Regions from separate parts of the Homo sapiens genome. Here regions 1 and 2 are each linked to region 3. The links are contacts of gene promoters, found by promoter capture Hi-C in human tissues and cell types (Jung and others, 2019). All regions are on one chromosome and are shown on one strand. Each heading gives the region's core, a stretch centred on a gene start or on the middle of the fragment in contact. The rest is flanking DNA. Distances are from core to core; before and after follow the strand shown.

Region 1 (2,700 bases), core at 91-2,590, 160 kb before region 3:
AGAGTGGGAGGGCGGGCTCAGGAATCCCACACGCGGACTGCAGAGAGTGGGAGGGCGGGCTCAGGAATCCCACACGCGGACTGCAGAGAGTGGGAGGGCGAGCTCAGGAATCCCACACGCGGAGGGCGGGAGGGCGGGCTCAGGAATCCCACACGCGGACTGCGGAGAGTGGGAGGGCGGGCTCAGGAATCCCACACGCGGACTGCAGAGAGTGGGAGGGCGAGCTCAGGAATCCCACACGCGGAGGGCGGGAGGGCGGGCTCAGGAATCCCACACGCGGACTGCGGAGGGCGGGAGGGCGGGCTCAGGAATCCCACACGCGGAGGGCGGGAGGGCGGGCTCAGGAATCCCACACGCGGACTGCAGAGAGTGGGAGGGCGGGCTCAGGAATCCCACACGCGGAGGGCGGGCTCAGGAATCCCACACGCGGACTGCAGAGAGTGGGAGGGCGAGCTCAGGAATCCCACACGCGGAGGGCGGGAGGGCGGGCTCAGGAATCCCACACGCGGACTGCGGAGAGTGGGAGGGCGGGCTCAGGAATCCCACACGCGGAGGGCGGGAGGGCGGGCTCAGGAATCCCACACGCGGAGGGCGGGAGGGCGGGCTCAGGAATCCCACACGCGGACTGCGGAGAGTGGGAGGGCGGGCTCAGGAATCCCACACGCGGAGGGCGGGAGGGCGGGCTCAGGAATCCCACACGCGGAGGGCGGGCTCAGGAATCCCACACGCGGACTGCAGAGAGTGGGAGGGCGGGCTCAGGAATCCCACAGCTAGTGTTTCAGCGTCTCCGTGTCCCGTGTGCCCCCAGCACGTTCCAAGAGCCAGGCTGCTGCATGCGATGTGGACAACAGGGTGTCCTCGGCAGTGGACTGTGCTTCTGTGAGACTGGACACGGGGCCGCCCGCGGTGCCGCCTCGGGTATGACTGGCTGCCGTCTGAGGGAGGGGACGTGGCCGTTGCCACATGGGTGGCTTGTCCCTGCCATCCTCTGTGGGGCCCTTGGCTGCCCCTGGGGGAGGCAGAGACCATCTTGTGGTCATGTCATGACAGCCCTTCCCTGTACGAGCTAGCGGCCGAGGGCGCGTGTCCTGGTGACTAGGCTGCACACTGTGAGTGAGTTGCTGTGCTTTTCAGTGAAGTTGTGAAAATACTTAAAACGGGAACTCAGGCAGACTGTGGCTACTTTTCTAAGTAACGTGCACCTCGTGCAAACCGGAATGCGGTTCGGCGTTGCCAAGCTGGTTCTGAACTGCAGCAGTCTGGACACATGTTGAGTTTCAGCCCAGCTCCAGACCGCGGTCAGAGCGCTGTCACCGAGAGCGGGTTCCCCGGAGGCCATGGCTGAGCTGCCCCGTGGGGGCAGGCTTTCTCCTGAGTGTTAGCTTTGATGCCCATAGAAGAGTTTTTTATTTTCATGTTTTTTAATTAAAATGAATCAATGTTCTTTTATCAGTTACATACTGTATTCACTTAAAACAATTTTAAAATAGACCTTCATGCCAGTATAGTGTGGGAAATTTAAAAAAAAAAAAAAGGCGCAGTGGCTCACGCCTATAATCCCAGCACTTTGAGAGGCTGAAGCAGGAGGATCACTTGAGCCTGGGGATTTAAGACCAGTCTGCGCAATATAGTGAGACCCTGTCTCTACGAAACATTATCTGGGTGTGGTGGTTCACACCTTTAGTCCCAGTTTCTCGGGAGGCTGAGGTGGGAGGATCACCTGAGCCCAGGAGGTCAAGGCCACCATGAGCCATGATTGTACCACTGCCCTCCAGCCTGGGCAACAGACCCTGTCTCAAAAAAAGAAAAAGAAAAACTTTATTGCATTTGTCAAAAGTTATGCTTCACTGTTTCATAAAGTCAAGCAATATAAAAAATTACAGAGAAAAAACGATGTTACTGCAAACCCACCACTTGTTCCTCTCAGATGTCTCTGTGTGCAGGTCACACACCCAGCACCTAGAGGGGCTCCCGTCCCCCACCCCGCCCGCCCCTCTGCTTTCTGTGACCATAGACTGGTTTACGTTTGCTGGAATTTTACGTAAATGGAGTCCTACACCCTGTGTTGACTTGAAGGATGCCGAAGTGTTCCTTCCTGGGACTTTCTGTTTCATAAAGTTCTGTTTTTCTCCTCCTTGTCCACTTTCTCATCTTCTTCCTTTTTTCTTCACAGTTTCTGGTTTGAATTGAGATCTAAAGAAGGTGCATACATTGCAGTTGTTGATAAATCCCTTTAAATATCCAGATTCCTCCGTCTTCCTTTTCCTTGACTATGTTGTGGACGATGTTGAATGATTTGCCATCGGTGCTTTCAGTAGTCCGACTTCTGCTGATTGCATCTCCCTGGTCTCATTTAACAGATTCCTCTGTCCCTGGAGTTCCTGCAAAGTAGTACTTAGAGCTAGAGGCTTTATGGGATTTACAGTGATTTGTCCATTTGTCTTGTTGATGTATACCTTTGTTGATGTATAGCTTTGTTGATGTATAACTGACATACAGCAAATGGCCCCTATTTCAAATGTACAGTTTGATCGGTTTTGACATGTGTCTGTACCCCAGTGACCCACCACAGTCAACACAGTGAACACATATATCCAACACCCCAAGTTTCCTCCTGTCCATCCCGGAGCCCTCCCCACACCATGCAACCATGACCCACTTTCTGCCTGCACAGCAGTTTTACATTTGCTGGAGGCTCAG
Region 2 (2,700 bases), core at 9-2,508, 190 kb before region 3:
TGGCCCAGAGCTCCTGCCTACGCGGGGATTTACGCGGGAGCCGCCCGTTCCTCTCCTCCTGACCCAGCTCTTTTCCTTGATCACCAGAAGCCTCTGCACATGCTCCTGGTACATGTGGAAGTTTGGGAGAGGCGTGCCCGTGTGCAGACGGGGTAAAACTGCATATTTATCGGCCCAGCTCGGGAAGGCGGAACCCCCAGGGCGGCACCAGCTGCTATGACTCCTGTCCTGGTGCCTGGGTCTCTTTCTTCTCTTTTCTTCTTAGACCAAAACACCTCAGATTTCTCCCGTTTTCTTACACAGAACCTTCAGCCCTCTCTCCTGACCCTTCCTTGGGCTCATGTTTTCATGCTCAGATGGTCCATCCAATGTTTTCCTCACTAAGACAGCATCCACCAAGGACAGCTCAACCCACCACATGGAAAATGGTGCTTTTTATTGTCTTTGGGTGACAGGATTAGGGTGTGCTGGGCCCCTGAGCTCAGTCTGGGTCGGAGGCCTGGCCTGGTCTGACCTGGTTGTTCAGCTCCCGAGTTCGGTCTGCGTCGGAGGCCTGGCCTGGTCTGACCTGGTTGTTCAGCTCCCGAGTTCGGTCTGCGTCGGAGGCCTGGCCTGGTCTGACCTGGTTGTTCAGCTCCCGAGCTCGGTCTGGGTCGGAGGCCTGGCCTGGTCTGACCCGTTGTTCAGCTCCCGAGTTCGGTCTGCGTCAGAGGCCTGGCCTGGTCTGACCCGTTGTTCAGCTCCCGAGCTCGGTCTGGGTCGGAGGCCTGGCCTGGTCTGACCCGTTGTTCAGCTCCCAAGCTCGGTCTGGGTCGGAGGCCTGGCCTGGTCTGACCCGTTGTTCAGCTCCCGAGTTCGGTCTGCGTCGGAGGCCTGGCCTGGTCTGACCCGTTGTTCAGCTCCCGAGCTCGGTCTGGGTCGGAGGCCTGGCCTGGTCTGACCTGGTTGTTCAGCTCCCGAGTTCGGTCTGCGTCGGAGGCCTGGCCTGGTCTGACCCGGTTGTTCAGCTTCTGTGCCTGGCTTAGGAGCAGGTCTGCAGATGTTGTGAGGCTGGGCCTGTGGGCACCTTCCCGGGTGCTGGCTGCTCTGTGGAGTTGATGAGGACGAGAGTGAACATCCTCGAAGGACGTTGGGGTTTTGCCCAGCTGACCAGTGTGAACGTCACCTGAAACTCACTCTGGATCCAGTATGTGCAGAGGGCGTTACAGTCGAACAGATTCGGTTCCTGACCTCTAGCGTTGGCAACTGAGGACGGTTTAAACAGATCTTCACCTTTTGCTCATGAAGCATCTCCATCCTCCCTGGGACCCACCCCACACCTGCTGCAGTCAGAGTGGAGCCTCCCTGCACACCGTTCTCGTCACGTGACACCTGCCTAGACGGCTTGTCCTCGAGCCTATTAGGTGGCCTCAGGTGTCCTTGGAAAGGCTGTGGAAGGCCTCCCCCGTGACTGTCCCATGGCCAGGTTCCTAAGGGGCAGAGGGGTGAGTCCTCGCAGAGCCCTGTCTAAACGTGGCGCCAGTCCTGCGAGGGACCCGTGGGTGCTCGGGCAGCCGTCGCTGAGTTTACACCCTTCCCCGCTGGAAAACGTGACTCTGGTCCTGCGAGGGACCCGTGGGTGCTCTGGCGGCCGTCGCTGAGTTTACACCCTTCCCCGCTGGAAAACGTGACTCTGGTCCTGCGAGGGACCCGTGGGTGCTCTGGCGGCCGTTGCTGAGTTTACACCCTTCCCCGCTGGAAAACGTGACTCTGGTCCTGCGAGGGACCCGTGGGTGCTCTGGCGGCCGTCGCTGAGTTTACACCCTTCCCTGCCGGCCTCTGATGGATCAGTGCCTGACGCGGCGTTTCCTCCTGGCACACACTGCTGTGTTCTCGTCTCGGTTGTCTGTGTTCTTGGAAACTTTAGTAGAATAAAACAAAGTAAACAAGAAGCCTGGCTTTTAAAGAAAATAGCCTCTAAATAGCTCATTCATTATAATGATTTGGGTTCCAGTCCTCTTAGAGATGTTCAAACATAATGTCTATGAAAACATCTGCAGAGCGGCTTCACCCAGGAGGTCTGGTGGTTGTGAGAGCGCTGCTTACTTCTGAGCCGACCAGGTTTTCTTTTCCCTTCGCCCTTCAGGGTTCCCAGGGTGGAGAGCCTCTGCCACCCTCCTGTCCCCCGACTCCCGTCTTCACTGGGGAACCGGCCGCATGGCTGTCCACGTGCACAGGAAGCCACATGGCCTTCCCGGAACCGCCCCGAGGCCTCTGAACTGGGGCCTCAGGTGAGAGGAGAGGGGCCCATGTGGCTGGGATGAGAAGGGCCAAGGCGGGGCGGGCGCTGCAGACGGGGACGGCCCAAAGGCTCTGCATCCATTCGGCCGGCTCTACAGCATTGTCGAGTCATCGCCGGGGCTGTGGGGAGGGTTACAGACAAGCCTGGCCGTTCTCATCCTCACTGCCGATCCTTGAACCGAGGGGACAGGGATGTGGCTGTAGCCGTGCCCCAGACCCCGAGCAGCAGTGCCGTCTAGAACCCTCACAAGCCGGCAGGTGCTCTGAGCACAGCCTGCAACGCCCAAGGCCTGTCCCGTGTCAGAGGCTGTTCTCCTTTCCACCTCTACAGCTGCCCTTTGCCTCCTTCTCCGCTAATCCCTTTATTTCTTTACTTTCCCACCTGTGGTTTTGCTTCTGCTTTATTCGCGCTCATTCTGC
Region 3 (2,700 bases), core at 101-2,600:
CACTCCAGCTTGGGTGACAGGGCAAGACCCTGTCTCAAAAGAAAAAAAAAAGGAATTAAATATAAAAGTAAACGCAAAGCCATGTAAAATCTTAAGTCTTAAGGAAAAAAATAACAAAAACAAAAAAACAGACCGGGTGCAGTGGCTCACACCTGTAATCCAAGCACTTTGGGAGGCCGACGTGGGTGGATCACAAGGTCAGGAGATCAAGACCATCCTGGCTAACACGGTGAAACCCCATCTCTACTAAAAATACAAAAAATTAGCCGGGCGTGGTGGCAGGCGCCTGTAGTCCCAGCTACTCGGGAGGCTGAGGCAGGAGAAACGCAGTGAGCCAAGATCATGCCATTGCACTCCAGCCTGGGCAGCAACAGTGAAACTCTGTCTCAAAAAAAAAAAAAAAAAAAAAAAAAAAAACCAGTTTGTCTGTCCTGGCCAGCTCGTCCCTATGCCACAGCCCTGCAGCCTCTGCCCTGCAGCCTCAGGCTCATCCAAGGGCCTGACACCAGCTCATCCCACCTCCTTTCCCAGTCCTCAAACCGACACCACATGCCAGCCTTCGCTACAACTGGGGTGCGGCCTCCGATTAAGCAAGCAAGCAGTTTTGGTGGGGGGGTGTGGAGGTAAAAACTGGCCCCCAAGTTAAGTGCCTCTGCAATTTAAAGTGGGGGGAGGGTGGTTTGCGGGAGTGCACAGCTGGCCCCCTCCCCCGCACCCACACACCCTGCTCCGCAGCTCTTGCGGTGCCTGGTGTCGGGCAAGCTCCGGCAGGTCCCTGCAGCCAGGCTCTGGGATAAGCTCCCTCCCTGCCGGCTCAGCTCCTGAGGAGGACCAGGGACAGAGACTCTCAGGAGCAGGGTAGAGGGTGGAAGGTCCACAGATCCTCAAAGGCCTCACTGGACCTCATGGCAAGGACGCCATGAATACTGTGCCTCCCAGGGTATGCGCGCTTGAGAATCAATCCAAGTGTTTGCCTCCTGCGTACACATGCTCAAGTTCTAAAGGAAAGTCTCACATGTCTTTATCATGACGCCAAATATTCATCGGGTGTGATTCTGATGAATATAGTAATCTCTATTCTAACTGCGGACACATCGAAAGCCCTCTGACATATGGCCGTCCAGGCAGCACCGACGCCGCACTCACAGACAGTTGAGTCTGGAGACAGCGCTGGGAGTCGGCGAGATAACTTGCTTGCTGGGTCCAGTGCTGGGGAGGCTGCCCGCAGCAGCTCGGTGGGTGCAAACACATGAATCGTAGCTGCGGGCAGGAGGAATATCAGGTGCATCTCTACGCCCCGAGGGCTCAACTCCTACACTTAAATCCCTCCCACTGGAACAGCAGGCTCCAGTTTCACCCAGCAAGCGTGAGAACAGGTACTGCTTCCTGAGCACCGCCAGCCACCGGCACCAAGACCGGCCACATCCCAGCACTGCCCACCTCTGGTAAGTACTCACTATTTCTTTTCAAATTCAAGTTTTATTTTAAAACTCTTCTCAGACGTATCTAAAATACCCAGCTGAACGCAGCGTTTGCTCCGTGTCTGCTCTGCCTTGCTCTGGGCTCCGAGGATTACTCAGGACCCAGCAGGTGCATGGCTGGGATGCAGACCACGATTACAAAACTTCTAATGAGGCTGACACTTTATTCTAAGAACATGAACAAGCTTATCTGGAAATTAACTCCTTGTTCTGCCCTAAAATTCATAAAAGTTAAACCAACACAAATTCATATTATTGCTTAACTGCTCCTAACCTCAAAAACAAACTACAATAAATGCTAACAAGAGGTAAGGGTCATATATATATGTGTGGTGTATGTACATTAGGGTGAATTTAGGGTTATATGTGTGGTGTATGTACATTAGGGCTGAATTTAGGGTTATATATATGTGTGGTGTATGTACATTAGGCTGAATTTAGGGTTATATATGTGTGGTGTATGTACATTAGGGCTGAATTTAGGGTTATATATATGTGTGGTGTATGTACATTAGGCTGAATTTAGGGTTATATATATGTGTGTGTGGTATATGTACATTAGGCTGAATTTAGGGTTATATATGTGTGGTATAAGTACATCAGGCTGAATTTAGGGTTATATATATGTGTGGTGTATACACATTAGACACAGCTGAATTTAGGGTTATATGTTTGTGGTGTATGCACATTAGACAGTGCCGAATTTACTATCTAGTTTAACTTTTAATAGTTTTAAAGTTTAAAATAAGTACATAAGCTTACATGAAGTTTAAAATTGGGCATAAGCTTTCGAAAACAAAACCAAACCAAAGGGGTTAAGTTTCTGTTTGGTTGTTAAGGTCTTCTGTACATATAGACACAGATACAAAAGGGTTTTTTTCCTTATATGAAATTTCTCATAAACTTGATTTGGAGGAGAACAATTACTGACCAAGCACAGTCCGTCCACATCTGTGCCCCTAATTTTCACTGCGCATTAGCAAAGGCCTTCCAGCATTTCTGACCGGAGTTTCAGGATGAGGCGGCGACTGTAAAGTGGTGAGCGTTTGTTTACGAGCTCAGGTCTGTAACTCGGGATCTCCTGCCGAAACTAGAGTTAAGAGCCCCTGGTTGTTTTTCTGGATCCATTCTTCCAAATTACATTCCCAAAGACTGTCTTTTCCCCAGGTCTTGGTTGTCCTGAGGTTTATCTTTCATTTTAAAGAACCGAAAGGCTGGG

The links. The method cuts DNA at HindIII sites, captures the fragments that hold promoters and counts their contacts. A contact is called where the count stands out against the background at its distance.
Region 1: a contact is called between a fragment that was not itself captured here and the fragment with the promoter of ZNF750 in region 3, in 7 of the 25 tissues and cell types used here (IMR-90 fibroblasts, adrenal gland, dorsolateral prefrontal cortex and 4 more).
Region 2: a contact is called between a fragment that was not itself captured here and the fragment with the promoter of ZNF750 in region 3, in 3 of the 25 tissues and cell types used here (dorsolateral prefrontal cortex, lymphoblastoid cells and mesendoderm cells).

The regions. Positions count from the first base shown.
Region 1 is chr17:83,000,891-83,003,590 of GRCh38, reverse strand. All of the region lies in intron 6 of QTGAL (queuosine-tRNA galactosyltransferase), which reads left to right. Among named protein-coding and RNA genes, the nearest start is that of QTGAL, 50 kb to the left of the region's middle. The HindIII fragment of the contact is 7,803 bases long and covers 1-2,700 here.
Region 2 is chr17:83,030,328-83,033,027 of GRCh38, reverse strand. The region is part of intron 4 of QTGAL (queuosine-tRNA galactosyltransferase); the gene reads left to right. Among named protein-coding and RNA genes, the nearest start is that of QTGAL, 20 kb to the left of the region's middle. The HindIII fragment of the contact is 9,928 bases long and covers 1-2,700 here.
Region 3 is chr17:82,838,672-82,841,371 of GRCh38, reverse strand. It overlaps ZNF750 (zinc finger protein 750), which reads left to right and starts at 1,350. Exons shown (of 3, transcript NM_024702.3): 1 at 1,350-1,445. All of the region lies in intron 13 of TBCD (tubulin folding cofactor D), which reads right to left. The HindIII fragment of the contact is 7,618 bases long and covers 1-1,952 here.